2 separate regions of the Homo sapiens genome follow, and region 1 is linked to region 2. Evidence: promoter capture Hi-C in 16 types of primary human blood cells and fetal thymus (Javierre and others, 2016). All regions are on one chromosome and are shown on one strand. The core of a region is centred on a gene start or on the middle of the fragment in contact, and the rest is flanking DNA. Distances in the headings are between cores, read along the strand shown.

Region 1 (4,814 bases), core at 1,367-3,866, 370 kb before region 2:
AAATCTGGTTTCCAATGAGTTAGATCCCAGATTCCCTCCTCATACTCAGAGAAGGTGAGTTGTTTGAAGACAGTAAAACAAGAGGATCTCTAGAATAAGGCCTGGTCAGCTCAGTGGAGGGCACTGGTACTGCACCAAAAAGACAAAGATTAAGTGAATGCTGACGCCGCCCCCGCAGCCGCCCCTTTCGCTACCCAGCTCCCAGCCACCTTTCCTCCTAAGCAGGCTGAAAAACACTCCTCTGGGCAAGGTGACCAGTCTCGAGGCTTTCCTAAAAGCAGTGACATGGCAAGGGGAAGAGGGTTATATTCTCCCGATCATCCCAAAGCAAAGCTCAAAGTCTTTACGCTCAGAGCTTCCAAACAGCTTTTTAATCCTCCCATTCTTGATCATAAACAGACAACCAAAGATTACCAGACATGTGAAGGCAGCCTCTAACACAGAAGAGATCAAAAGAAACGGAAAGAAGCAACTTAAAGAAAACTAAAACCAAGCCAAAAAACTACCATGAACTCCCTAAAAGAGATAACAGAAGATGAAACAAGAACAGAGATGTTATTAAAAAACAAAAGAGCTCTTGGATAATAAAAAGCATGACAGTAGAAAAGTAAAACTAAATAAACAGCTGGGTTGGAAGATAAAGAAAAGGAAATATCCTACAAAGTAAAGCAAGAAATTGGCTAGAAACAAGGGAGAAAGGCAATAAAATTACAGGACCAGTCCTGAAAAATCCAACATCCAAATAAGAGAAAGAAGGTAGAGAAGCTAGAGAGAGAAAGAGAGAAGAAAAATACGGAAAGAAAACATCAGCGAAGTACAGTAATTCACGAACTTTTCCCACAGCTAAAGTACAAGGGTTTCTAGATTGAAAGGGAATGTCCCATGCTAAGCAAAGTAGACACCACCACCATGAAATTTCAGAGCCCTGAGATCAAAATATATTCTACAAGATTCCACAGAGGGAAAAAAAAAAAAAATACAGGTTGGGCACGGTGGCTCACACCTGTAATCCCAGCACTTTGGGAGGCTGAGCCGGGCGGATCATGAGGTCAGGAGTTCGACACCAGCCTCACCAAAATGGTGAAACCCCATCTCTACTAAAAATACAAAAATTAGCCGGGTGTGGTGGCACATGCCTGTAATCCCAGCTACTCACAAGGCTGAGGCAGGAGAATCGCTTGAACCTGGGAGGTGAAGATTGCAGTGAGCTGAGATCACGCCACTGGACTCCAACCTGGGTGACAGAGCAAAACTCTGTCTCAAAGCAAAAGAAAATAAAAAATAAAAAATCATATACCAAGGTTCAGGAACCAGCATAGCTTCAGACATCAAGAAAACCAGAAGAGGCCAGGCGAAGTGGCTTACACCTGTAATCTCAGTACTTTGGGAAGCCTAGGCAGGTGGATCACCTCAGGTCAGAAGTTTGAGACCAGCCTGGCCAACATGATGAAACTCTGTCTCTACCAAAAATACAAAATTAGCCAGGTGTGGTGGCGTGTGCCTGTAATCCCAGCTACTCGGGAGGCTGAGACAGGAGAATCACTTGAACCCAGGAAGTGGAGGCTGCAGTGAGCCAAGATCACACCAGTGCACTCCAGCCTGGGCAAGACAGAACGAGACTCCACCTCAAAAAAAAAAAAAAAAAAAAAAAAGCCCAGAAGAAAAGGAGCAATGCCTTCAAAATCCCAAACAAAACAATTTCCAACCTGGAATTCCAAAACCAACCAAGCTTGTAATCAAGGTTAAAGGTAAAATAAAGGCAATCTCAGACACATGTTTACCAAAAAAAGTTTCTCCATGTACCCTTTCTCAAGAAGCTACTAGAAAAAGTATTCCACCAAAATGTGAGAGTAAACCAAGGAAGAAGAACATGAGAAGACACAGAGTATAGGTAGCAGAAGACTCAATCCGGGAGAAATGTGAAGGAGGCTCCAGAGAGACAGCTGCCAGCTGGCCTGACGGCAGGCAGTCCAGACCAGAGCAGGACAACAGAGGGCTGAGGACGTATACCTCCAAGAGAGAAAAAAAAGAAACAGATTCCTTATTTTGACAGTATTGAGAAGGATTTTACAGCTCTCGCAGTTTGGGGATTAATTAGTGAAAGGTACCAGGAAAACCAAAGGAAAAACAAAGTAATGATGAACTTTAAGGAAAATGAAGTTTTACAAGAAAGAAAATGTGATCAGAGTATACAAGGCGACTCAGCTGTGAACATGGCAGTAACAAATCTTACACAGACTTAACCCAAAAGGTATTCAAGCCACACAGGGAGGCTGCAGAAAGGGGAAGCTAATGTGTCCCTGGGTGTGGGTGCTTCTGAAGGAGGTATAGAGAACTAAATTCTCATCGCCCAAGCAAGAAGTCCTCAGACATCTAAAACTGAAAAACTGATCAACAGTAAAGATTATTTAGAAACATGGGGTAAGTACTAGAAGAAAGAGCTAAAGATGAGAGAAGCTGCCTGCAGAGCAGTAGTAAAGGATGGGTGGAGACGAGTAAGATGGAGGAATGTGGCCTGGCACAGTGGCTCATGCCTGTAATCCCGGCACTTTGGGAGGCCAAGGCAGGTGGATCACGAGGTCAGGAGTTCGAGACCAGCCTGGCCAACATGGAGAAATCCCATATCTACTAAAAATACAAAAATTAGCCGGTTTGGTGGCGCACACCTGTAATCCCAGCTACTCAGGAGGCTGAGGCAGGAGAATTGCTTGAACCCAGGAGGTGGAGGTTGCAGTGAGCCAAGATTGCACCATCGCACTCCAGCCTGGGCAACAGAGCAAGACTCTGTCCCAACAACAAAAAAAAAAAAAAAAAGAAAAAGATGGAGGAATGCTTCCCCTCAATTATAAGCTATGTTAAAAATCACTAGTTTCCGTCCAATGACATCCTTCCCTTCTTCTCTGGTTATCCAGGTACAAGTCTGCCTAGATAAAGGCTGATTTTCCAGACTCCCTTGCAGCCAGGTGTCAGCCGGGTTTCCCCGCTCTTGTCAACAGCAGATACAACATGTGCAACTCTTGAGCCAAGCTCTTAACAGGGAAGGAATGCACTCTCCTCTTCTCCCCTTCCCACTGGCCAGAATGCCCAGATAACAAACCCTGAGTCCTATCAGAGTATCCATTTCACACCAAGAGATGGACACTGTGTTGAGGGGTGATAGAGAATCAAGACAAAAGGTACCAGTATCTCTGACATGATGGAGCCATCCTTCTTAAGCCAAACTTATATTCTGTTTAAGCCACTGTGATTTTGGCCTTTTACACAGCAGCTAAACCCATATCCTAACATATAAATCCTTCAAAAAAAAAAAAAAGCACTTAGTTTAGGTTTATTAATAACTCTGAAAATCTGAAAAGTATGTTAGAAGAAAACCATCAGTTTGTTCCCTGGAGGCCTGGTTAAGTAAAGTACTATTTTTAATTAGTAACACTTAGGATCAAACTAGAAAGATGGAACACATTTCATCAACAGAACTAAAAAGTCAGATGCCTGGTACAAGCTTTACTCACCTTTTGGATTTCTAAATGAGAGTCAGAGTCATCCAAGAACTCTAGGGGTGGAGAGCATTTGTCAATGACAGTCCTTCGGTCCCCAAGGGGCTCCTCACTGGGTTTCTCTTGAGGGTCTATAACTACTCTCCTGTCATAGAAGCTGCTCCTCTCTGGCACTGTCTTATCCTCCTCCATGCTGACCTCTGGGGTTGCGTCTTTCTCCTTCTGAGCAGCAGTGACTGTGACACTCCTGGCTGCTCCTTCTGCAGTCTTGGCTGGTCCTTCACTCCTGGCTGGTCCTTCTCCATGGCTGGGATGCTCTGCTGCGCTTGGTTTTGCCCGAGTGGCAGCCTCTCCCTTCCTTTTTGGCATCGATTTCCCCAGGATGCCCTGGATAGCCTTCAGGTAGATCATTGTGGAGCCCTGGTCTCGAAGTCTATCCCTCTTCCTTTTCTGGACCTTGTTGGGTTCCTCAATTGTATCATTCTGACCCTCAGCTTCAGCTGCAAATTCAGAGTTTGTGGAGTTATGAGAACTATCTTTGGAATCAACCTGGGAAAAAAAAAACAGAATTGAAAGGGCTGTTCCAAGGGCACTTTCGTACATGAAGCATTTGGCAAATTATAAATCAGTGGTGGTTCTACCAGTCAAAGGGAAAGTGACTGTGGCTAAGGCAAAGGTTCTCTCCGGGTGGTGAAGTGGCACTGTAAGAGGGGCTGATTGCTGCCATTTCTTAGCATTCGCCTTCTCATGCTCAGCAGATGATATCCTTTCACTGCAAGGGGACGGAAGGAGCTGAAATGAACACTCTCATTAAACCAGACTGCAAGCTCCTGGAAGGCAAGGACTACACTTCAGGCAAAACAGCAGCTCAAGCTCTTCCCACTGGAAAGGGCCCTAGAAACCAGCTAGCCCAATCCCATATCTAAGGGTAAAGGAAACCTGAGGACCCAGTGAGGGGAAGGGCTAGCCCCAGGAACTCCAATCCCCCAGTTCTGAGTGCAGTGTTTTTCCCACCATACCCAAAGCCTCCTGAAAGTTCTCTGCAAACACTTCCCCTCAAATAATCAACTTGGTTTTGGAAAATACCTCAGTTTCTCAGTGACTGCACCAGGGTCAGTCAAGATAGACTGCTCCCAACAACAAACCTCCTCCAAGACGGAAGTGAAGCCTCAGCCCCCTCTTGCACCCACTCACTCCAGGACTCCACACAGAAAAAGCTAGACTTTGTTTGCCAGACTATTTTGATGTGAAATTCTAATCCAGTCTAATCCCTGCCGGGTGTAAGAACTCTCCACAAATGTCCTCCTAAGGCCATTCCAT
Region 2 (5,495 bases), core at 1,739-4,238:
AATTTGTTTCATAGCTGTTGGTCACCCAGTTCTAGCCAACCAGGAATAAATTATAGTTTTGCCACCTCAGCAGATGGCAAAAGGAGCTTTCCAGAACTTTGGCCTGGTCTGCACCAGGTACCAACATCACAGCTGCTAAAATCACCAGAAGGGATTTTGGAACCGCTGTACTAGTGTCCTTTCATTCGATGGGATGTCCAGGCTTCACCCCAAAGAGGCTTCATTTATGCTTCTTCTCCTGTGTGCTGGTGAACCAAGAGTCTAGGAGCTTCTTGCTGTAGTACAACTGCCAGGCATGCACTTGCACTGCCAACACCAACACCAGGTACATGATGGAAACGGCAGAAAAACCAAAGAGGAAACGGTAGGCCTTGCCATGGCGGTAGAGCTGCTGTGCAGCAGGGAACATCTCCATGCTGCCATAAATGAGTGGAGCGATGGAAAAGAGTCCCATGCTGATCATGGAGAGCACCAGGTAGCTAATGTTGTTGCGGGGAAAGGAGAGAAGGCCCAAGAGAGAGGGCAAAATGCTCAGCAAATACGGGTATTCCCACTGATAGGGCATGGCCACCTGATCATGTGACAAGAGCCTCAGGTGTCCCACGCTCATCTTAGCAACCAGCAGCAGCCATATGACCAGATGTACGTAGATCAGCTTCTTGATTTCATACTTGAGAGTCACACTGTGGGGCAGAGCAGAGGGAGAAGTATCTTTCAAATTTTTCTTACCACCAACTATATGCCAGACAACTGTACTGGACACTGGGATACAAATTTGAATAAAACAGCCTAGAAGCCGGACACAAAGAACAGAGGAGGAAAAAGTAATTAGAAAATGAAGTGAAAAAGTTCTAGTAAATATATGTTCCCAGATATATGGGATCACAGGAAGGAGGAATCAACTCTGCCTGGCATGGAATGTCAGAGATGGCTATCTAGAGGCAGGTGATATCTGAACTAGGCTCAGGAATGAGTGAAGATGGGCATCCCATGCAGGAGCATGCAGACAAAAAGGCCCAAGTATTTGTGTTCCAGGAAAGCAAGTGGTTATGTGTGGCAGGAACATATTGTTAGGGGGAGAGGGGTAGTGGGATATGAATCACAAAGACTATGAGAGTTAAAAGTAGAAGAGGCTGGGCTCACAACTCTAATCCAAGCACTTTGGTAGGCTGAAGCAGGAGGACTGCTTGAGCCCAGGAGTTCGAGACCAGCCTGGCAACAAAATGAGACCCCATCTCCATAAAAAAAAAAAACAACAACAATACTACTAATAAAAAGGCAGGGCTGGGCGCGGTGGCTCACGCCTGTAATCCCAGCACTTTGGGAGGCCGAGGCGGGCAGATCACGAGGTCAGGAGATCGAGACCATCCTGGCTGACACGGTGAAACCCTGTCTCTACTAAAAATACAAAAAAATTAGCAGCACGTGGTGGCGGGCGCCTGTAGTCCCAGCTACTCGGGAGGCTGAGGCTGAGAATGGCGTGAACCCGGGAGGCGGAGCTTACAAGTGAGCTGAGATCGCGCCACTGCACTCCAGCCTGGGCGACAGACCGTGACTCCGTCTCAAAAATAAATAAATAAATTAATAATAATAATAAAGGCAGAAGGGTAGCTCAGAGCTGTGTTTAGCAAGAGGACGCTGACTGCACCATAGGATTAAAGTCTGGCGGGAGAAGGTATTGGCAGAGAGGAAACGTACTCAGGCCGCCCATACTTCTCCAGCTAGATTTTTTCATCCAAAAGAAGTACATACTTATCTTATTCTTCTAATTCTCTCACGTCCCAAACGTATCCTCCTCATATCCCTAAAGGCAATGTTTCTACTCTGGGCTGGCATGAAAACACCTGCTTAAGTTGTGAGGGCCCTTTCAGCCGGGGCCTAGAGATGTGAAACAAATGAGAGTTCAAAGAGCTTGTCATTCTTTAAAACTCTGGAGAGAGAGATGTGAAGAACATTCTGGGAGAGATCAATGGATTTAAGGAAGTAAAAATTTTAAAATTTTTATTTAAAAATATTTATTGTAGAAAATGTGGAAAGGTTGGAAAAAAAAAACAGTCATCTCTAGACTTCAAGCTCCATGAAGGCAGGGAACAGTTTTTTTTTTCTTTAATAAAATTGTTTATTGAAGGTATAACATGTATACAAAGACCACGTCTGCTTTTGCTCACTATTATAACCTAGTGTCTAGCAGTGTATGATGTTTGGAAGCTCAGTATTTGTCGAACTAGTAATTGAATGTAGAAATACCCCTTACGTGGGAGTGTTTATAAAATTCATTTTAGGCAAGGCGTCCTTAGGAAAGGCTGCCTTTTACTGTCTATATCCCCCCAAACGGCCCAAAATATAACACCTACCATATATTACGTGGTAGGCCTTATGCTACTTTCTTTACACGAATTACTGATTAATCTTTCACCAAAACCTAAAAGGCAGATTATTCTCTCCCTCTACAGATGAGGAAGCTGAGGCTCAAATTAGAAATTCGGTTTCGAAGGTGATACAGCGGGGCCAGCATCGACGTGACTCGGGAGCCCACGCAGGGCGGGAGCCCACGCGGGGCTGGATCCCCTCAAGGCACCGGGCGGAACAAGGGGTGGAGCTCGCGGGGGCCACGGGGCTTTCCAGGATGGGGGACAGGCCCGAAGCCGTCACGGGAGGAGGGGACTTGGCAGGTGAGCGGGGGCTGGCTGGGGAGCAAGACCCTGAGGCCGGGCCGGCGTCGCTCCCCAAGCCCCGCAGGCTCCAGCGGGGGAGAAAGCCTCCGTGCTCCTCGCCTCACTTCATACCTCATCTGGTAGTGCATGGCGACGCGCTCCCGGTGCTGAAAGTCGCTGCCGTCGGTGCCGGCCGCTCGCGGGCCTGCTCGAGACGCCATTGTGCCTGCCCAGAACCCCCGAACCCCTCACGCGGACCTGGTACCGCAACGACACCGCCAAGCGGCCCACTGACCCTATTTGCGCCCCCGCAGCCGCGCGGCTCCGTGAAGAGAACTTCCGGCCCCTCTGTCTCTGGAGGACCGACTCTATGGTCACTCCTCTCCGCGCAGGCGCCCTCGTTCCCTCTCGCCCCCGCCCCGCCCAGCCCCGCCTCTTGTGGAGCGCGCAGGAAATTAATCCCCAGCCTCTTTTGCTGGCGCCCAGAGGCCGCTTGAACACTTTTACTTTCTTAAGCTGTAATATCAGTTAGGATACTTCTGTCCACACTTTACAGAGGGGGAAACTGATATATTCTATGACTTTCCCTGGAGCACACATCATTCACACAGCCTCACACCTTTAATCCCAGCACTTTGGGAGGCCGAGGTGGGTGGATCACTTGATGTCAGGAGTTCAAGACCAGCCTGGGCAACATGGTGAAATCCCGTCTCTACTAAAAATACAAAAATTAGCCAGGTGTGGTGGGTTCCTGTGACCCCAGCTACTTGGGTGGCTGAGGCAGGAGAATCGCTTGAACCAGGGAGGCAGAGGTTGCAGTAAGTCGAGATTGTGCCAATGCACTCCAGCCTGGGGGACAGAGTGCAGAGTGAGACTTTGTCTCAAAATAAGTTTCTCACATTTAATTATTGCAAAGAGAAACAGGGAATCTCTCAGTGAGGAAATCTGGCTTGTCTCCCTTAAACATATAGTCAGTTAATTTGATCAATAATGAGATAAACTGATATCTTGTGCCTCTTTTAATAGACTGAGGACACAGCATCACTTCTATGATGTTTCTGCCAAAAATACCTAACTGAATCTAATCATGAAGAAATGACATAAATCCAGACGGAGGGACAGTCTAGAAGAGAGCTGGACTGTACTCTTCAAAAATGTCAAGGCCATGAAAGAAAAATTATTTCCAAATAAACTTTATCTGTAGAGACAAAGTAGAATGACCATTGCCAGAAGCTCGAGGGGTGGACAGAGAATGGGGAGCTAGTGTTTAATGGGTACAGAGCTTCAGTTCGGGAAGATGAAAAAAGTTCTGGAGATGGATGGTGGTACTGATTGCACAACTATATGTGTGTGCTTAATGCCACGGAAACTGTACACTTAAAAATGATTAACATAGTAAGTTTTATGTTATGTGCATTTTACCACAACAAAATACTAAGCGAAACTTTAAAGAAAGAAGTTATATTATCCGAATAAAGAAAAAAAGAAAGAAAAAAGCATGTATAGTGAGCATCTTCCATGCACCAGGATGCTCTGCTATGACCTGGGGACGCAGAAATAAACATGGTCCATTTCCCCTGAGGGATCCCAGCCCAGTCGGGGGAAGAACTTGTACCCATGAAGCTAAGAAATTCAAGAAAACACAGGAGGCTGAGGGAGGAAAAATGAGGCCTCTCTCCCTGACCTGGAGGGTTAGGAAAGTCTCTCTGGAGTGGCAGCAATTGAGCTGAGGTCTGAAGCCTGAGTGGGAATTGGCTAAAGAGGTGGGGAGCGGAAGAGCTTTTCAGGCAGAGGGAACAGCATGTGTGAAGGCCCCAAATCCAGAGAGCACTTGGCTCTTCAAAGAACTGAGAAACTTAAGAGTGACTGGAGCATTTGGAGGGTTCAGTAAAGAGTTAAGTCTTTATCCCAGGGGGTTTGGGGAACCACTAAAAGGTTTAACCAGGAAAATGACACAGTTTTGCATTTTTAAAAGATAGGTCTAGGTGGGGGCACAGTGCCTCAAGCCTGTAATCTCAGCACTTTGGGAGGCCAAGGCAGGAGATCAGCCTGGGCAACATAGTGAGACTCCCGTCTCTACAAAAATAAAAAATAAAATAATATTAACTGGCATGGTGGTGCGTGCCTGTAGTCCAGGCTACTCGGGAGGATGAGGTGGGAGAATCATTTGAGACCAGGAGTTCAAGGTTACAGTGAGCCATGATTATGCCACTGCATTCCATTCTGGGCAACAGAGTAAGACACTGTCTGTAAATAAATAAATAAAGATAGATCTAGTTGCTGTGTAGAGAATGGCTTGCAGGGGCCAAGGGTGAAGCAGAGGAATCACTTGAAGGCTACTGCAGTAATTCAGGCAATCCTAGGGGTGGCTTGGGCTAGGAGGTGGCAATGGACAGAGAGGAACAGATTTGAGTTCCTTGGGATTTAACATCTGTAGGTGGGTAACAAGAGCACATATGACCAGCAAGGGGCTCACACTAGGAAGGGAGTCTGTGTGGCTGGGATCTGAGAAAGGCAAGCAAGAAATCAGCAACATTGGCCGGGCACGGCTCACACCTGTAATCCCAGCACTTTGGGAGGCCGAGGCAGTGGATCACTTGAGGTCAGGAGTTCAAGACTAGCCTGGTCAACATGGTGAAACCCTGTCTCTACCAAAAGAAATACAAACATTATCAGGGTGTGGTAGCGCATGCCTGTAGTCCCAGCTACTTGGGAAGCCGAGGCAGGAGAATCCCTTGAACCCGGGAGGCGAAGGTTGCAGTGACCTGAGATCACACCACTGCACTCCAGCCTGAGCAACAGAGTGAGACCCTGTCTCAAATTTTAAAAAAATAAGAAAAA

The links. The method cuts DNA at HindIII sites, captures the fragments that hold promoters and counts their contacts. A CHiCAGO score of 5 or more calls a contact.
Region 1: a contact is called between a fragment that was not itself captured here and the fragment with the promoter of JAGN1 in region 2, in 7 of 17 cell types (naive CD8 T cells, naive B cells, monocytes and 4 more). The highest score is 8.6, in naive CD8 T cells.

Annotation. Positions count from the first base shown.
Region 1 is chr3:10,259,366-10,264,179 of GRCh38, reverse strand. It overlaps TATDN2 (TatD DNase domain containing 2), which reads right to left. Exons shown (of 8, transcript NM_014760.4): 3 at 3,510-4,043. Among named protein-coding and RNA genes, the nearest start is that of TATDN2, 13 kb to the right of the region's middle. RefSeq lists a silencer at 56-245. The HindIII fragment of the contact is 1,770 bases long and covers 1,732-3,501 here.
Region 2 is chr3:9,888,103-9,893,597 of GRCh38, reverse strand. JAGN1 (jagunal vesicle mediated transporter 1) reads right to left here and starts at 2,988. Exons shown (of 2, transcript NM_032492.4): 1 at 2,787-2,988; 2 at 1-683. The coding sequence starts at 2,875. The coding sequence ends at 221. The HindIII fragment of the contact is 18,772 bases long and covers 1-5,495 here.